Linked DNA regions of Homo sapiens: regions 1, 2, 4, 5 and 6 are each linked to region 3. Evidence: promoter capture Hi-C in 16 types of primary human blood cells and fetal thymus (Javierre and others, 2016). All regions are on one chromosome and are shown on one strand. The core of a region is centred on a gene start or on the middle of the fragment in contact, and the rest is flanking DNA. Distances in the headings are between cores, read along the strand shown.

Region 1 (2,700 bases), core at 87-2,586, 350 kb before region 3:
CTGTAATCCCAGCTACTCGGGAGGCTGAGGCAGGAGAATGGCGTGAACCCTGGAGGCGGAGCTTGCTGTGAGCCAAGATCACGCCACTGCACTCCAGCCTGGGCGACAGAGGGAGACTCCATCTCAAAAAAAAAAAAGTTAAAAGTAAAAAAGAGCTATTTCTCCATGAGACCATTAAGCTGAAGTTTGTGAACTCTTAATTTTTCTCACTCTGTTGCTATCAATGTTGGCCTTTAACAACCTCCTCTCCCTCTCCTCTGAAATCAGTTAAATTTATTAATATAAGTAATAATGTCTAAAATAGAATAAGCTTGATTAGCTCAGATTGAGATATGCCTTAACCAGCATTCTGAATAAATAATGTAATCTATTTTAGAGTTGTAACATGTTTTTGTCCTACATATTTTTTTTTGAGATGGAGTCTTGCTATGTTGCCCGGGCTGGAGTGCAGTGGCACGATCTCAGCTCACTGCAAGCTCCGCCTCCGGGTTCACGCCATTCTCCTGCCTCAGCCTCCCGAGTCGCTGGGACTACAGGCACCCGCCACCACGCCCGGCTAATTTTTTTGTATTTTTTTTAGTAGAGACAGGGTTTCACTGTGTTAGCCAGGATGGTCTCGATCTCCTGACCTCGTGATCCGCCCATGTCGGCCTCCCAAAGTGCTGGGATTACAGGCGTGAGCCACGGCGGCCGGCCTTTCCTACGTATTTCTTGATTGAGACCCAGATTGTCCAAGTGATATTTTATATAAAGTACAAGTCGGGGTGGCTGGCCGGGCGGGGGCTGCCCCCCACCTCCCTCCCGGACGGGGCGGCTGGCTGGGCGGGGGCTGCCCCCCACCTCCCTCCCAGACGGGGCGGCTGCCAGGTGGAGACGCTCCTCATTTCCCAGACGGGGCAGCTGCCGGGCGGAGGGGCTCCTCACTTCTTAGACGGGGCGGCCGGGCAGAGACGCTCCTCACCTCCCAGACGGGGTGGCGGTCAGGCAGAGACACTCCTCAGTTCCCAGACGGGGTCGTGGCCGGGCGGAGGCGCTCCTCACATCCCAGACGGGGCGGCGGGGCAGAGGCGCTCCCCACATCTCAGACGATGGGCGGCCAGGCAGAGACGCTCGTCACTTCCCAGATGGGATGGCGGCCGGGAAGAGGCGCTCCTCACTTCCCAGGCTGGGCGGCAGGGCAGAGGGGCTCCTCGCATCCCAGATGATGGGCGGCCAGGCAGAGACGCTCCTCGCTTCCCAGATGGGGTGGCAGCCGGGCAGAGGCTGCAATCTCGGCACTTTGGGAGGCCAGGGCAGGAGGCTGGGAGGTGGAGGCTGTAGCGAGCCCAGATCATGCCACTGCACTCCAGCAAAGACCAGTCAGGCGTGGCGGCACGCGCCTGCAGTCCCGGGCGATCGGCAGGCTGAGGCAGGAGAGTCGGGCAGGGAGGTTGCAGTGAGCCGAGATGGCGGCAGTGCAGTCCAACCTCGGCTCGGCTTCAGAGGGAGACCATGGAGAGAGGGAAGGGGAGGGGGAGGGGGAGGGGGAGGGGAGGGGGAGGGGAGGGGGAGAGGGAGAGGGAGAGGGACGGAACCTGAAGTTCTAGAGTGATGCAGGAGTTACCCCTGCAAGGATGGTTATGTAAAAATGTCAAAAATAAATGGAACCTGAATGGAAAAAAAAAAAAAAAGTACAAGTTATTTTTCACAGGGGAATAGGAACCACACAGACCCACCCAATCTGGTTTCTTATCTGAAGTTAATTCCAAATGACTGTGCTCTGTAATTTAAAATTCATCTTGAAGTGAAAATTACATTTTCCACCAAATCCTTTCATTACTGCTATCCACATTGGTCATACCCCCACATCCTTCCAGTACTCTGGTAATTGGTGGAATGTGTTTTTTTGGTCTCTACTACATTTCTTGACAATCATCCCGGATTATTTCAAATTCCACGAAAAGAACCCATTCAATGCCCTGGCTTCAGAGATCCTCAACCACTTCAATTCCAATTAGTTTTTCACATTCCCATTTCACATAAGCAGCCTACTTCCACAGCCATTCCCAAGTTGAAATATTCTCTTTCAGAAATCCAATATTCCTTTCTTAGGTCACAATTTGGAAGCACTATTTATTACACAAGTAACATATGAACATATTCTAGGTGTACAGGATGAGTTCTTTCACCATTACTTCCAAAACTTCCACTGTCCTTCCCAAAAATGACCATTGAAAAAACTTTTTGCATACATTCCACTCACTTTCTGTTTCATATACATATAATGCAGGGTTCCCCAGTGCCTGGGCCACAGACCAGTACCCGTCCATGGCCTGTTAGGAACCAGGCCACACAGCAGGAGGAGAGTTGTGGTCGAGTGACCAAAGCTTCATCTGTATTTACAGCTTCTCCCCACTGCTCACGTTACCACCTGAATTCTGCCTCCTGTCAGATCAGTGATGGCATTAGATTCTCATAAAAATGGAAACCCTATTGTTGCGGGAAGTCAGGGACCCCAAACGGAGGGACCGGCTGAAGCCACAGCAGAACATAAATTGTGAAGATTTCATGGACATTTATTAGTTCCCCAAATTAATACTTTTATAATTTCTTACGCCTGTTTTTACTGCAATCTCTGAACAGAAATTGTGAAGATTTCATGTACATTTATCACTTCCCCAATCAATACTCTTATAATTTCCTATGCCTGTCTTTAATCTC
Region 2 (2,700 bases), core at 1-2,500, 260 kb before region 3:
CAGCAGTGAAAATTGATAGCAAGGTAACTCTAAAGGCACATGCCGGTAAATCAGACACCTTAAAGTGCTTGGAGACTTTTCCAACAGACCTGATAAAAGGGTGAATTTTTTCACTTAGGTGAACTTTCTTTTTAACGTCTTGACCACCCTGAAAAATAAATCATTAAAAAAGAACTTCAGGTATACAATATAAATACAGTCATGTGCAGCATAACGACATTTTAGTCATGATGGACTGCATATAAGATGGTGGGCACGGTGGCTCACACCTGTAATCCCAGCATTTTGGGAGGCTGAGGTGGGTGGATCACCTGAGGTCAAGAGTTCAAGACCAGCCTGAATCCCATCTCTATTAAAAATACAAAAAATTAGCTGGGCATGGTGGCGCATGCCTGTAATCCTAGCTACTCGGGAGGCTGAGGCAGGAGAGTCGCTTGAACTCGGGAGGCAGAGGTTGCAGTGAGCCGAGATCGCATCATTGCACTCTAGCCAGGGTGACAAGAGCGAGACTCCATCTCAAAAAAAAAAGAAAAAGATGGTGGGTCCCATAAGATTGCAATACTGTATTTTTACTGTGACTTTTCTATGTTTAGGTATGTTTAGCTACATCAGTACCTATCATTGTGTTACAATTGCCTACAGTATTGAGTACAGTAACATGCTGTACAGGTTGTAGCCTAGGAGCAATAGGTTATACCATATAGCCTAGATGTATAGTAGGCTATACCATCTGGGTCTGTGTAAGTATACTCCATGACTTTTGCAAAGTGATGTATTTCTCAGGATGTATCCTTATTGTTAAGTGATGCATAATTATAATTAAAACATTTCTAGGGCTGGACGCAGTGGCTCACACTTGTAATCCCAGCACTTTGAGAGGCTGAGGCGGGCGGATCACCTGAGGTCAGGAGTTCGAGACCAGCCTGACCAATATGATGAAACCCTGTTTCCACCTGCCAACACGCCTGGCTAAATACAAAAATTAGCCGGGTGTGGTGGCAAGTGCCTGTAATCCCAGCTACTTGGGAGGCTGAGACAGGAGAATTGCTTGAACCCGGGACGCGGAGGTTGTGGTGAGCCAAGATAGCGCCACTGCACTCCAGCCTGGGTAACAGAGCAAGACTCCGTCTCAAAAAAAAAAAAAAAAATTTGTAGGCTGGATGTAGTGGCTCACACCTGTAATCTCAGCATTTTGGGAGCCTGAAGTGGGAGGATAGTTTGAGTTTAGGAGTTCAAGAACACCCTGGGCAATATAGTGAGACCTTGTTTCTGCAAAAATTAAAAAATTGGCTGGGCGTGGTGGCGCATGCCTTTAGTCCCAGCTACTCAGGAGGCTGAGGTAGAAGGGTCACTTGAGACCAGGAGGTCAAGGCTGCAGTGAGCTGTGGTCACGTTACCGTACTCCAGCCTGGGTGACAGGGTGAGACCGTGTCTCAAAACAAAACAAAACAAAACAAAAAAAACCAAAAAAACAAACCAAAACCAAAACCAAACTTTAACATGTTCTATTATTTTATATATAATAAATCTATTTTATCTATTATTTTACATATGCCACAAAGCAAGATATTTATAGCAAAATAAAATGAAATATCTTAAAACATGTAGCTACTATGACTTTAAATGATCTATTGGTAAGATCATTTACTCTGCAATGTGAATGCCATTAAAGATAAGTTTTAGGCCAGTGTGGTGGCTCATGTCTGTAATCCCAGCACTTTGGGAGGCTGAGGTGGGTGAATCACCTGAGGCTAGGAGTTCTAGGCCAGCCTGGCCAACATGGCGAAACCCAGTCTTTACTAAAAATACAAAATTTAGCTGGGCACAGTGGCAGGAGCCTGTAGTCCCAGCTACTCGGGAGGCTGAGGCAGGAGAATTGCTTGGACCCAGGAAGCAGAGCTTGCAGTGAGCCAAGATCATGCCATTGCAGTCCAGCCTGGGCAACAGAGTGAGAGTCCATCTCAAAAAAAAAAAAAAAAGATAGTTTCATTTTCTTTGACAGTAAACATATCAGGCTTGGTAACATCTAGAAACTAAAGCAATGCAAATTAGAATTAAGAGGATCTTACCTTTACAAGGCTCAAATACTCAACTATCCCAGAACGTACTGCAGAAGACAGTTTTCTAACTGATTCATCACAGACCCAACAATGAACACCTCTCCTTCCAGAATATACCCAGAGACGATGCTTAAATCCAAAGTCCTCTGAGGAAGAGAGAAATAATAGGTTTTAAAACAAATCTATAAACTCCTTAATTAATGTATATTAAATTACTTGTTGTTTCCTGTGCTCCCCATGTTCTTGCTTCATCTCTTTACCCATCCTGGTCTCTCTGCTGGGAATTTCTTTCTTTTTTAAAAAACTATTTTATTAGGCCAGGTGTGGTAGCTCACGCCTGTAATCCCAGCACTCTGGGAGGCCGAGGTGGGCAGATCACGAGGTCAGGAGTTCGAGACCAGCCTGACCAACATGGTGAAACGCTGCCTCTACTAAAAATACAAAAATTAACTGGGCGTGGTGGCGTGCGCCTGTAGTCCCAGCTACTCAGGAGGCTGAGGCAGGAGAATCACTTGAACCCAGGAGGCAGAGGTTGCAGTGAGCCGACATTGTACCACTGCACTCCAGCCTGGCTGACAGAGTGAGACTCGTCACACACACACACACACACACACACACACACACACACACACACACACAC
Region 3 (2,700 bases), core at 166-2,665:
GTATATACTCAAAGAGTTATGACAAAAACCAAAACGACTGATGACAATCTGATAGCTTGGTTTTAAGCTGGTGCCTAGAGACGAACCAGAGGCATTCCCTTGGACACAATCTTATACTTCATTACCAGAGCCACTGGATCAAATTTTTCTCCTATTAATTTCCTCCCAAATACAAGCTTTCCTAATTCATTGAGCATATTCTTTTCCCTCATGATGCCAAATACCATGCACATGCTTGAACACAACTATCAAAGCTCCACTAGCTACTGAGGAACATATAAGGTGGTTCCGTTTTTTAGCTTTGTCATTGCTGTGTCTTCAACCTCTCAATAATCTCCAAATAAATCTCACGTTCTTGAATCCCCATCTCTCTCTGCCTATACTACATACCCGCTCTCTGGCCTTTCGATAACCCAGAGCCCCTCCAGATATTGCTTTATCACAGTCCCTGTATTCTGTGAAGTTAAAACACTCAGAATGCACAGTAAGAAAAGTAGAACACAACTGTGGTAGTATTTAATATTACTTTAATATGTTGTATTCTTTTTCGCCACCCTTTTCGGGGTTTATATTTTGTTGTCCCTGCACTAACAGATTTACTTGATGCCGCAAGAAAGACTTCTAATTATACAGGTAAGACTCCTAGAGGCTTGTTCACTACCACTTTCTGCCCTTTCTGACTCCTGCACGACTAAGGAAGAAGAGCTACTTGCATCCCTGTTCAGTCTCACAACTCTGCCCAACACAGCCCCTTTCTCCATCTCTCCAGATTCTAACAACTCCCAACTTTTTCTGGGGCCCAGGAAGCGTCTAAGTATTGTGGGGTACCGGCCAAGCATCTCCCGGGCCCTGGTGGCCACCCCTGAACGATGGGCGGGTCGGAGCACTGGGCAGCCAGAGGAGAGGGTGGGAGAGGGGGAAGCTGGGAACTTCCAAGGACACCCCAACAATCCCCGGGCGCCGCGGTCTCCCCTCCGGAGTCGCATCTGGGAGGGAAGGGCGCTGCATCGGCTGGGGCGCTCCCTCTGGAGGCAACGAGCGCCTCAGTCCCTCCACAAACAGCGCGGGGCTCACCCGGGTGAGCCTGTTGGGGGCATGGGGCTGAATAAGGGGCCAAGCGAGGGGCGGCGGGGCCGGCCGGGGTCGGCGCGCGGGCGGGGAGGATGGGTCCGGCCGAAGGGAGCGGGCAAGAGGGACCCCAGCAAGAGCGAGATAAATGCCGGGCCGAAGGTCGGGCTTCGGCCAGGGGCAGCCCTCGGCCTGGCCGCGCTTACCCGGCTCTGCGGCGCCCCGAGCACCATCGCCGCCGCCGCTTCACACAAAGGCCCCGGCCCGCCGTGCCCGGCCCGACGAGGAGGCGGCGCCGCCGGCCGCGGCCAGACTCTCCATCCGCCGCGCGGCTCGCCGCGACGGCCCGGGCCGCCCCCGCCGCCCGGCCCGCAGCGCCCCCCGCCGTCCCGGAGGAGGCAGCGCCCCCCGCCGCCCGGCCGCAGCGCCCCCCGCCGCCCGGGAGGAGGCAGCGCCCCCCCACGGCGGGGCCGGGTCCAGGACCTGCGCGAGGGGTGCAGGGGCTTCCAAGTCCCCAGGCTGGCTTTTTCTAAGCGCCCATCCACTGTGCGCGGGACTTGGTGCCTGAAGAGTGAAAAACCCTATCCAAACTCTCTTCACCTCCCCTGTTCTACGCTCACAGTTCCAAAAGCTTCTCCTCAGAACATCTACTATGGGCATTTTACAAAATGTTGTAAGATTGTTTGATTACTATATATCTCCTCCACTAGGCTGTGGGCTTCCTGAAGGCAGGGATCTGTGGCTTTGCACACGGCCGCAGGTCCACACTGACCCTTACCACACTTCCTGGCACAATAAGTGCTTAATACATTAAGCCTGCTTGAATGAATGAAGGAGCACTTGAGGGCTAGACCGCTACTACTGGACCCTTCTGATAATCCACTGCTGTCCCTCCTTCCATCTAGGTGGCCAAATGAAGAAAGTCACCGGATCTCACTGTACTTTGGCACCCCAGGCCTGCTTCCTGAAGCCTGCCCTCCCCAACTCTGTGTAGAACTCGATCACTCTTCCTCCCCACCCTTCTCCCAAATCATCTTTTCAAATGCTTCTGCCCAAGAATTGTCATCAAACGAAAACCACCTACACTGCCTGCCCCACCCACCACCACCAAAGACATTAGAAGTCTTCGTCATGTCGCCCTCCCTCCCTCAGTACAGAGGAAGCTCTTAGGCTCCAAGACCCTTCAGTTTCATCCTCTCTCCCATCCCATCCCAGTCACTGCCTGAAAATAGCTTGCAGCCAAGGACAAACTCCCAGGACAGGCGCATGGTAGGATTCAGTAATTCCTTGATGGATAAGTGGAAAGGAAGGGACACACTGAATGTTGCCAACAGATCTAAGCCAGTTTGGCCATTCAGCAATTGTCCATTCTCTTGATGAATTTGGGAGATTGTGTGTCCTCCTTTCCACAACCTCATTAACTGGTGGCAGACTATACTGAAAGCAAGCACTATACCAAATGCTGCCAAACATGTAACATTTGTTAGCCAGGAGATACAAAAACAGCCATAGAACTGTTCTTATAGTTTGGGGATGAGGCATCTCACTTTACCATCTAGTGAAAGGGTCACTTAGAGGTTGACACAATGTTTCAGTGGCAGGCCCAGCTCTCACAGTTGTGCAAGGTGACTG
Region 4 (2,700 bases), core at 195-2,694, 490 kb before region 3:
CAGAGTCTTGCTCTGTTGCCCAGGCTGGAGTGCAGTGGTGAGATCTTGGCTCACTGCAAGCTCTGCCTTCTGGGTTCCCACTATTCTCCTGCCTCAGCCTCCCGAGTAGCTGGGACTACAGGTGCCCACCACCACGCCCGGCTCATTTTTTTTGTATTTTTAGTAGAGACGGGGTTTCACCGTGTTAGCCAGGATGGTCTCGATATCCTGACCTCATGATCCACCCACCTCAGCCTCCCAAAGTGCTGGGATTACAGGTGTGAGCCACTGCGCCCAGTCTTACCATTTTTAATTAGTAACATTTTTTTCAAATGTAAATTTTGTGTTCTGAGACAGTCCATTTATTCATTTAACAAATATTTTAACATTTTAAATTAGCCAGGTCCTCCTGAATGCTAAGGATATAATGGTGTACAAAACAGTCATGGTCTCTGTCCTCATCAAGCTTATGCTTCTGGTAAAGGCTGCTCATGACTAGTGACCTTATAACTAATGTATATTTATATTTTAACAATTACTTTTTCAGCACCATATGAACAGGAAAAATAGAAAAACAATTATTTCTTACATTCAAATCTCTCTCTCTCTCTCTCTTTTTTTTGAGACAGAGTCTCCCTCTGTTGCCCAGGCTAGAGTGCAGTAGCGCAATCTCGGCTCACTGCAACCTCTGCCTCTGGGTTCAAGTGATTCTCCTGCAGCAGACTCCCGAGTAGCTGGGACTACAGGGCCACACCACCACGCCTGGCTAATTTTTTGTATTTTTAGTAGAGATAGGGTTTCACCATGTTGGCCAGGCTGGTCTTGAACTTCTGACCTCAAGTGATCTGCCTGCCTCTGCCTCCCAAAGTGCTGGGATTACAGGTGTGAGCCACTGTGCCCAGCCCTTACATTTAAATCTTATGTTTCACCTGAGAGTTTTAGGATATGGTCCTAATTATCTGGAAATCAGATTTTAAGCAAATTATCTTCTAAATATATAGTGAATCAAAACTCAGGTAGAATCTTCATTAGGAGTGCTTCTCAGCAAATGTGGTTTTCAACAAACCTCTTGCTGTTTGTGTTGTAAGTTTATCCCTAGAAATATTACCCAGTGTGTAAGTTAAGAATAAGTCAGAATATTGAATATGACTACTACTTGAGGTAAGGGGCTGGCTTGAGGAAAATAGTTGAATCTTTCACTTCTGGATTCCTAGGATTATTCCTTTATTATTTCTGACCCCAAAGTACATATTTACTGGAATTTTTAATTTTACGGGCAAATAGAAAGGATAGAATTGAGTCAAGAAATCTGAATTCTGGCCAGGAGCAGTGGCTCACAGCTATAATCCCAACACTTTGGGAGGCCGAGGAGGGCAGATCACCTGAGGTTAGGAGTTTGAGACCAGCCTGGCCAACATGGTGAAACCCCGTCTCTACTAAAAACACAAAAATTAGCCAGGCATGGTGACATGTGCCTGTAATCCCAGCTGCTCCAGAGGCTGAGGCAGGGGAATTGCTTGAACCCGGGAGGCGGAGGTTGCAGTGAGCTGAGATCACACCATTGCACTCCAGCCTGGGCAACAGAGTGAGACTCCATCTCAAAAAAAGAAAAAAAAAAAAACAAAAGAAGAAGAAGAAATCTGGATTCTGGTGTCACTTATGCTACTATTTGACCCCTATGACCTTGTGTAAGTGAGCTTGCCTCTCTGGGATTTGTTTTTTTAATCTGAAAATGAGAGAGGACAAGGGGAAGGAACTATCCAATTAATTACTGTTTTGGCTCATTATCATCCCCGCAGTCTCATACTTCTTGCAATATTTAGATTTAACCATATGAAATTGCTAGTATTCAATGATATGAAAAGATTAAGATTTGACCTATGGAGACAGCAGTTTCATTTGATTCAGCCTAATTGTTGAATCAGTTGTGGGCCCTATTGGGATCATCTGAGTTGTTTATTTTAGGGATAGATGAGGCCAAGGCCAAGCAAAACTAATGCCTCAGGTGTGAAGGAAACACACATTTAGAGAATATATCTTTCTGGTAGGTGATAAAATAAAAATAAAAAGAGAATACAATGAATACCACCATAAAATCAATGTAGTATATTCTGGGTTACATAGAATTCATTCTAGTCTTTTCTTTCTACAATATGCTAATTTTCTAGCCCAGTGATTCTAAATGATTTGGTTCCTGTATTCCTTCAGCGTCCGGCAAAGGAAAAGTCCATTTGACAATTTTATTAGAATATTCTCTGAAGCAATGTTTGTCCAGGAATATCTGTTGCTATAGGAGAAGAGGCCTGTTAGCACTGATATCCAGGTGTGAAAGAAATAATTCTTCAGAGCTGTCTTTTTCCTTGTTTGCCAGTAAGGTAAGTCAAAGAGGTAAAAAGACAAACTTTTCCAATTTTTTGTTTTAGACCAATTTTGTCATTCCATCCTACATCAGAAGGGGTCACGGCTAAGCTTTGCTTTATTGTTTGATGTAGCTCATTAACATTTCTTGCCTAAGGAAACTGGTATGTTCAATAAACTGTTTTTGTTTGTTTGTTTGTTTTGTTTTGTTTTTTACTTTTCCCTAAGACATAATCTCATCTTTTTTACCAGGAAATAAACTCAGCTTTTTTTTTTTTTGAGACAGAGTCTCACTCTGTTGCCCAGGCTGGAGTGCAGTGGCATGATCTCAGCTCACTGCAACCTCTGCCTCCCAGGTTCAAG
Region 5 (2,700 bases), core at 157-2,656, 280 kb before region 3:
ATTACAGCCTGAAGATTTCCTTCATTTAACGCTGCACAACTGACTCAGAAAGGCTATCATTTTAAGAACTTTTCATTACCTCCTCCTAAGTTTTCTACAGAGATATGTTTTAACCAGAATTTAAAATTAGCCTTCACAGTCGTTAATTTCGACGCTGAGGATAAAAGGATTTATTTCAATCCTGGGTTTCACACAATGATGCAGGAACTATTCCAGCACACTAGAAGTATCTCAGCACCACCAACCCATAAACAAGTTATCCGACCTAGGACGACTCTGGGGCCCAGTAGGACACATTTACCACCAGCACACATCTCATCCAGACATGTGATAAAGGCACAATGCCAAGCTCTGCTAACTAAAACCTTGATGCAACTTGCTGGCTGGAGTTTCACAAATGCTCCGGGCTCCTTGGCCTGTGTCATCTAGTTCCAATAGGTAAGAATCACTGAGCCCATTCCCTGCTGAGTTTTCCTATGTGAGGTGGGGGTTCCACAGGAGAGCTTCTTTTGAGGCGACAGGCATAACATAGAAAGCAAGCTAGGGTACTTTTAACGTCCACGAATCTTAAAAATATTATTTTTACTCCAAATCCCTAAAGAAGTATCTCCAGGATAGTAATTTTACGGTCTATCCTCCTTGGTAAAGCTGCAACCCCATCCTCCTAAAAAGTGTATTTCCCCTTGGTCATTTTGCCCACCAAATGGCTTTAGGGTTAATTTTAATTAATGGCAAGGAGGGTAGGGAAACCTACCTGTCTCAGCCTGGGGCTGCGGCAACTCCTGCTCTGTAGCAGGGACGGTTTCTGTGGCTTCGCCGGGCATTTCTGAAGGAAGGGAATAAAAAGGAGGCCTAAATTGATTGGGATACATTCACTTGCCCAACCCGGAGATAAGTATTCTTAAAAACTCCGAGGAGGGCTGTTAGAAAAAAATCGTGAGGGTGTTTGGTGACAACCTTCCCCAAAGCACCTGGGAATAAGAGGTAAATATGATGTGACCCTCACGCCTCTATCAAGGCCAGCAATTCCCACTGCATTCTCAACCCGAGGGAGAGGATCCCGGGCTGGCTCTCGATCATGGGAGACTTCAGACGCTACTGTGAACCCCCTCCACTCCTAATACTCACACTGGCTGGGCTGGGGCCTCCTGGACTACGTTTGCCGACTTTGGGGTACCAGGAGGGGAAAGACGGTGTTTTAAGTCCAACACTTGCTTGTCACAGGGAGAACGGTGTTACAGGTTCTAAGGCTGTGACCCCTTACCCTTTTCTGGATCCTGTGAAGCAGTTCCCAAAACAAGACGCACTCCTCTTCCGCCCTCAACACTGCAACTGCTCCCATCTCTGCAGGCTCGGATTCTGGGCCCGCCCCGCAGCCCTTCTACCCTGCTTTTGCCAGGACACCAACCGCAGACCCCATTTTGTCCGGAGGCCCAGGGGCGAGTAGGAACCCTGTGGCCCAGTAAAGCCTCCAACTCTCCTTAACTCTCAGTCCCCGGGGCGGCTTAGCCCGAAAGAAAGGCGGATGGCTGCGGATAGACAGTAGCGGCACAGAAAGTACTTACTGTGCAGGGAACGCGGAACCAAGATGGCGGCAGAAAGACCGAGCGAGAGCGTGACCCACGCCTGTTGCAGAAGGAAGCCTGGAGCGGAGGGGGTGGGACTAGGATCCGATTCCGGGTCAAGAGCTGCCGGCAGCCACTTCCTTTGACGAGTGACTGTCAGGCCGTTCCCACGGCGGGGGTGGTGACAAGGACTAAAGGGTAAGAATTTAGAACGGGACGCGCAGGCCTAGCAGGAGCTCTCTGCGCGGACCCACGCAGTCCTCAGAACTAAGCAGACTCCGCCCTCCGGTCCGCGAAGTGGCGACTGCGGTATTAAGTCGACCTCGCGATTTCTCAAATAGTGCAGGAAGAAGACATTAAATAGCGAATGCTAGAGACTGCATTCACAACATTGGAGGGTGGAAGTGACTTAGGCTAACCAGTTATTTTTGGAACACACGATGTGAAAACATTTAAAAGCTGCTGGACCCTCTCCCCCCCCATCAACAACAACAAAAAAACCCATTTTAAAACTTGAGAGATGTGATGGGTCACATATAACTTCAGTTCAGATTATAAATTTAATTCGATTTTTCTTGTTCTGTTCAATGACTAGAGAGACTCAAACGATGTCACCAGATGACAGCAACTCATGCGTGTTAAACTCTTCGTAAAACAATGTTAGCTGTACCCCCGCCCCCCCCCCAAAAAAAACACTTCTTGTAACCAAATTCTGTAATTATGTTCCAACCTTGTATGGATAACGTAATCCAGCTAAAAACTCCTCTGTCTCCCTAAATAAATGAAATCGTAACTTCTCTACTTCTGAAGGCTGACTCCATTCTTTGGAGGTTTTCTGGTTGGTCCATCCTCACACTGCCCTTGAATAAACTCTTTAAATAGATTCCGGCCCTTTTGATTGTTTTAGGTTCACGACAATTTAGCCGATGTTGAAATTATAAAGCTGCAGATTCTCCTTCCCAGAAAAAAAGAACATAGGCACATATACAATTCCTTTGCTTGCTATTTTGGGCACTTCTTGGATTTTTTTTTTTTTTTTTTTGAGTCGCTCTGTCGGCCAGGCTAGAGTGCAGTGGCACGATCTCGGCTCACTGCAATCTCCGCCTCCAGGGCTCAAGCAGTTGTCCCGCCTCAG
Region 6 (2,700 bases), core at 154-2,653, 330 kb before region 3:
TAGACTAAGCTAAATGAGGTGGCTCACACCTGTAACCCCAACACTTTGGGTGGCCAAGGTGGAAAGACTAGTTGTGTAATCCTTCAGGAGTTCGAGACAGCCTGAGCAATAGTGGATCCTGTATCTGGGGAAAAAACAAAAAAACAAATTTCCTGGGCGTGGTGGCACATTCCTACAATCCTAGCTATTTGGAGAGGTGAGGTGGGTGGGAGGATCGCTTAAGCCCAGGTGGAGGCTACAGTGAGCCATGTTCACACCAGTGCACTCTGGCATGAGTGGCATGAGACTACCTAAAAAAAAAGACTAGGCTGGTGTCGTGGCTCATGCCTGTAGTCCCAGCACTTTGGGAGGCTGAGGTGGGGAGACTGCTTGAGCCCAGAAGTTCAAGACCAAGCTGGGCAACACTGTGATACCCCTTTCTACAAAAAATACAAAAATTAGCCAGGTGTTGTGGCATGCCCCTACAGTCCCAGCTACTTGGGGGACTGAGGAGGGAGGATCACTTGGAGCCTGGGAAACTGAGGCTGCAGTGAGCCAAGATCGTGCCACTGCACTCCAGCCTGGGTGACAAAGAGAGACCCTGTTTTGGGGGAAAAAAAACACTGAAAATTGTTAAACATACCTTTTGAAAACAAATTTACTAGTAAGAACTATTTTCAGTTGATTATTTTTTCACCAAGCTTTGTCCCCTCCCATGTGATAGCTGAGTAATTTATGCAAAGTCTGTCTCTTAAGTACAAAAGATTCTACACCAGTTAATAACTGATATTCTGATCACACTTCGTATTAAAACTGAGTAGACAAAAAACATGAACATGAGGCTTTATACTTAGCTGTGAAACAAAAACACAGCCATATTCCTTACATCAAATAAGTACATCTTTTATTACCTAAAATAAAAATATCAAACTTTTCAAAAAAGGAAAATGAAACCTACCTTTGCCCTTTCTTTTGTTAACCTTGGCCATGACTGGCCAGATTCTCCTTTTCGTAAACAACATAAAATTGATCTGTCCGTTCTTTTATGCTTGGAATCCTAAAAACAAAAGGACCATCATACCATTTATCTTTCCAGCATCACTACATGATAGAAAATAGCTTGTCATTTCTCACCTTTCTCATTTCTTTACCTAAATTTTCTCTGGACTCTGAAACATGCCCTTGACTACTAAAAACTTCAAACTATCCAACTGCCCCAACCCCCTTTAAGTTTCATTTAAAAAAAAATTTTTTTTTCCCTTCTATTTCCTACTGAAATAATCTGCACAACAATAAAGTTTAAAGTTTAACCTGGTACCATTTTTTTCTTTCCTGCACACGATAAACAGAATAAAACCTTAAAAACTTTAACTAAAAATGATATAACCACAGAATGGTTTAAAGATTCTATTCTTAGATAAGGGAAGCCTTGGCCGGGCGCAGTGGCTCATGCCTGTAATCCCAGCACTTTGGGAGGCCGAGGCAGGTGGAACACCTGAGGTCAGGAGTTTGAGACCAGCCTGACCAACATGGTCTTTACTAAAAACACAAAAATTAGCCAGGCATGGTGGCATGTGCCTGTAATCCCAGCTGCTCCAGAGGCTGAGGCAGGAGAATCCCTGGAACCTACGAGGCAGAGGTTGCAGTGAGCCGGGATCGCTCCATTGTACTGCAGCAGTCTCAAAGAACAAAACCAAACAAACAAAAAAACAAAACAAATAAAAAAGATGAGACGAGCCTCAAGGATACTACTCTAAGCCCAAACAGTGATAGCAAAAACAAAAAGTATGCAGAAACCAATTTTGGAGGAAATATTCTACAAAATGTAAATATACATAGTTTGCCTCACTGTTAAGAAAAACAGAACTAATGCTCATTGCTAAAAAGAATACTTGGTATGTCTGTTTCCTCACAACTAAAATTTGGATTAAAGCATAAAGACTACTTACATTTGGATCAATACAGTGAAAAAGATCAATTTCATTTAAATGCTTAAAATTATCACTTCCTCCGAGACAACTGTATAAAATAATAAAGAAAGAATTAAGCCTCTTCAAAGAGACAAAGATTAATAATAACTTCAATGAAAAGACAAGCCAGTCAAAGTTATTCAGTTGTGTGAATGACTATTTTACATCATTGGATAAAAAGCTTAACTTACCTGAATGTAAGTTTGGATTTTTCAAAATTTACATTAACATCCTTACTGTCTTCAACACAAAATTCAATGAAGACATAGTCCCTTCGATCGTACCACTTTGCAGAAGCAGGCTGCCTACAAAAGGATAAAGTAGGGAAAGTCAAGCTGGAATTCATTAACTAAACATTCACATACTAACCTTCGACACCATTATAGCATTATTTCAGGGCAGTTTGTTACAATTTTAAACAAAAACTACATTTTTACCCTAACAGCTACATTCCAAGTTAAAACCTATGGGTCTAACAAGATTTAGTTTCAGAATGATTCCAATTTCATAATAGGAAAGATTTAAAAACCAAACAATGCTTAGTAGAGTTAGCCGTTTATCTAGTCCTATCAAAAATTATGTTACTTGGCTGGGTGCAGTGGCTCACACCTGTAATCCCAGCACTTTGGGAGGCCAAGGCAGGTGGGTCACTTGAGGCCAGGAGAGCTAGAGACCAGCCTGGCCAGCACAGCGAAACCCCGACTCTACTACAAATACAAATACGGAAAAAAAAAAAAAAAAAAAAAAAAAA

What was found. Contacts are between HindIII fragments. The CHiCAGO score rates a contact against its expected background, and 5 or more counts as called.
Region 1: a contact is called between a fragment that was not itself captured here and the fragment with the promoter of ZBTB39 in region 3, in 3 of 17 cell types (M2 macrophages, erythroblasts and M0 macrophages). The highest score is 7.5, in M2 macrophages.
Region 2: a contact is called between a fragment that was not itself captured here and the fragment with the promoter of ZBTB39 in region 3, in 6 of 17 cell types (M2 macrophages, erythroblasts, M1 macrophages and 3 more). The highest score is 10.8, in M2 macrophages.
Region 4: a contact is called between a fragment that was not itself captured here and the fragment with the promoter of ZBTB39 in region 3, in 4 of 17 cell types (naive B cells, total B cells, fetal thymus and 1 more). The highest score is 6.9, in naive B cells.
Region 5: a contact is called between a fragment that was not itself captured here and the fragment with the promoter of ZBTB39 in region 3, in 14 of 17 cell types (erythroblasts, M1 macrophages, M0 macrophages and 11 more). The highest score is 11.8, in erythroblasts.
Region 6: a contact is called between a fragment that was not itself captured here and the fragment with the promoter of ZBTB39 in region 3, in 4 of 17 cell types (M2 macrophages, endothelial precursors, M0 macrophages and 1 more). The highest score is 8.5, in M2 macrophages.

What each region holds. Positions count from the first base shown.
Region 1 is chr12:56,650,933-56,653,632 of GRCh38, forward strand. No RefSeq gene overlaps it. Among named protein-coding and RNA genes, the nearest start is that of ATP5F1B, 6.3 kb to the left of the region's middle. The HindIII fragment of the contact is 2,056 bases long and covers 309-2,364 here.
Region 2 is chr12:56,743,976-56,746,675 of GRCh38, forward strand. It overlaps PRIM1 (DNA primase subunit 1), which reads right to left. Exons shown (of 13, transcript NM_000946.3): 5 at 2,070-2,206; 6 at 90-148. Among named protein-coding and RNA genes, the nearest start is that of PRIM1, 7.0 kb to the right of the region's middle. The HindIII fragment of the contact is 6,831 bases long and covers 1-2,700 here.
Region 3 is chr12:57,005,131-57,007,830 of GRCh38, forward strand. ZBTB39 (zinc finger and BTB domain containing 39) reads right to left here and starts at 1,416. Exons shown (of 2, transcript NM_014830.3): 1 at 1,275-1,416. RefSeq lists silencers at 1,085-1,234, 1,255-1,614. The HindIII fragment of the contact is 1,523 bases long and covers 175-1,697 here.
Region 4 is chr12:56,514,985-56,517,684 of GRCh38, forward strand. No RefSeq gene overlaps it. Among named protein-coding and RNA genes, the nearest start is that of SNORA105C, 3.5 kb to the left of the region's middle. The HindIII fragment of the contact is 2,003 bases long and covers 444-2,446 here.
Region 5 is chr12:56,723,698-56,726,397 of GRCh38, forward strand. NACA (nascent polypeptide associated complex subunit alpha) reads right to left here and starts at 1,602. Exons shown (of 9, transcript NM_001365896.1): 1 at 1,566-1,602; 2 at 755-826. The coding sequence starts at 824. RefSeq lists enhancers at 229-348, 1,408-1,457, 1,548-1,677. The HindIII fragment of the contact is 3,564 bases long and covers 1-2,700 here.
Region 6 is chr12:56,670,812-56,673,511 of GRCh38, forward strand. PTGES3 (prostaglandin E synthase 3) reads right to left here. Exons shown (of 8, transcript NM_006601.7): 2 at 2,141-2,254; 3 at 1,929-1,998; 4 at 938-1,036. Among named protein-coding and RNA genes, the nearest start is that of PTGES3, 16 kb to the right of the region's middle. The HindIII fragment of the contact is 1,450 bases long and covers 679-2,128 here.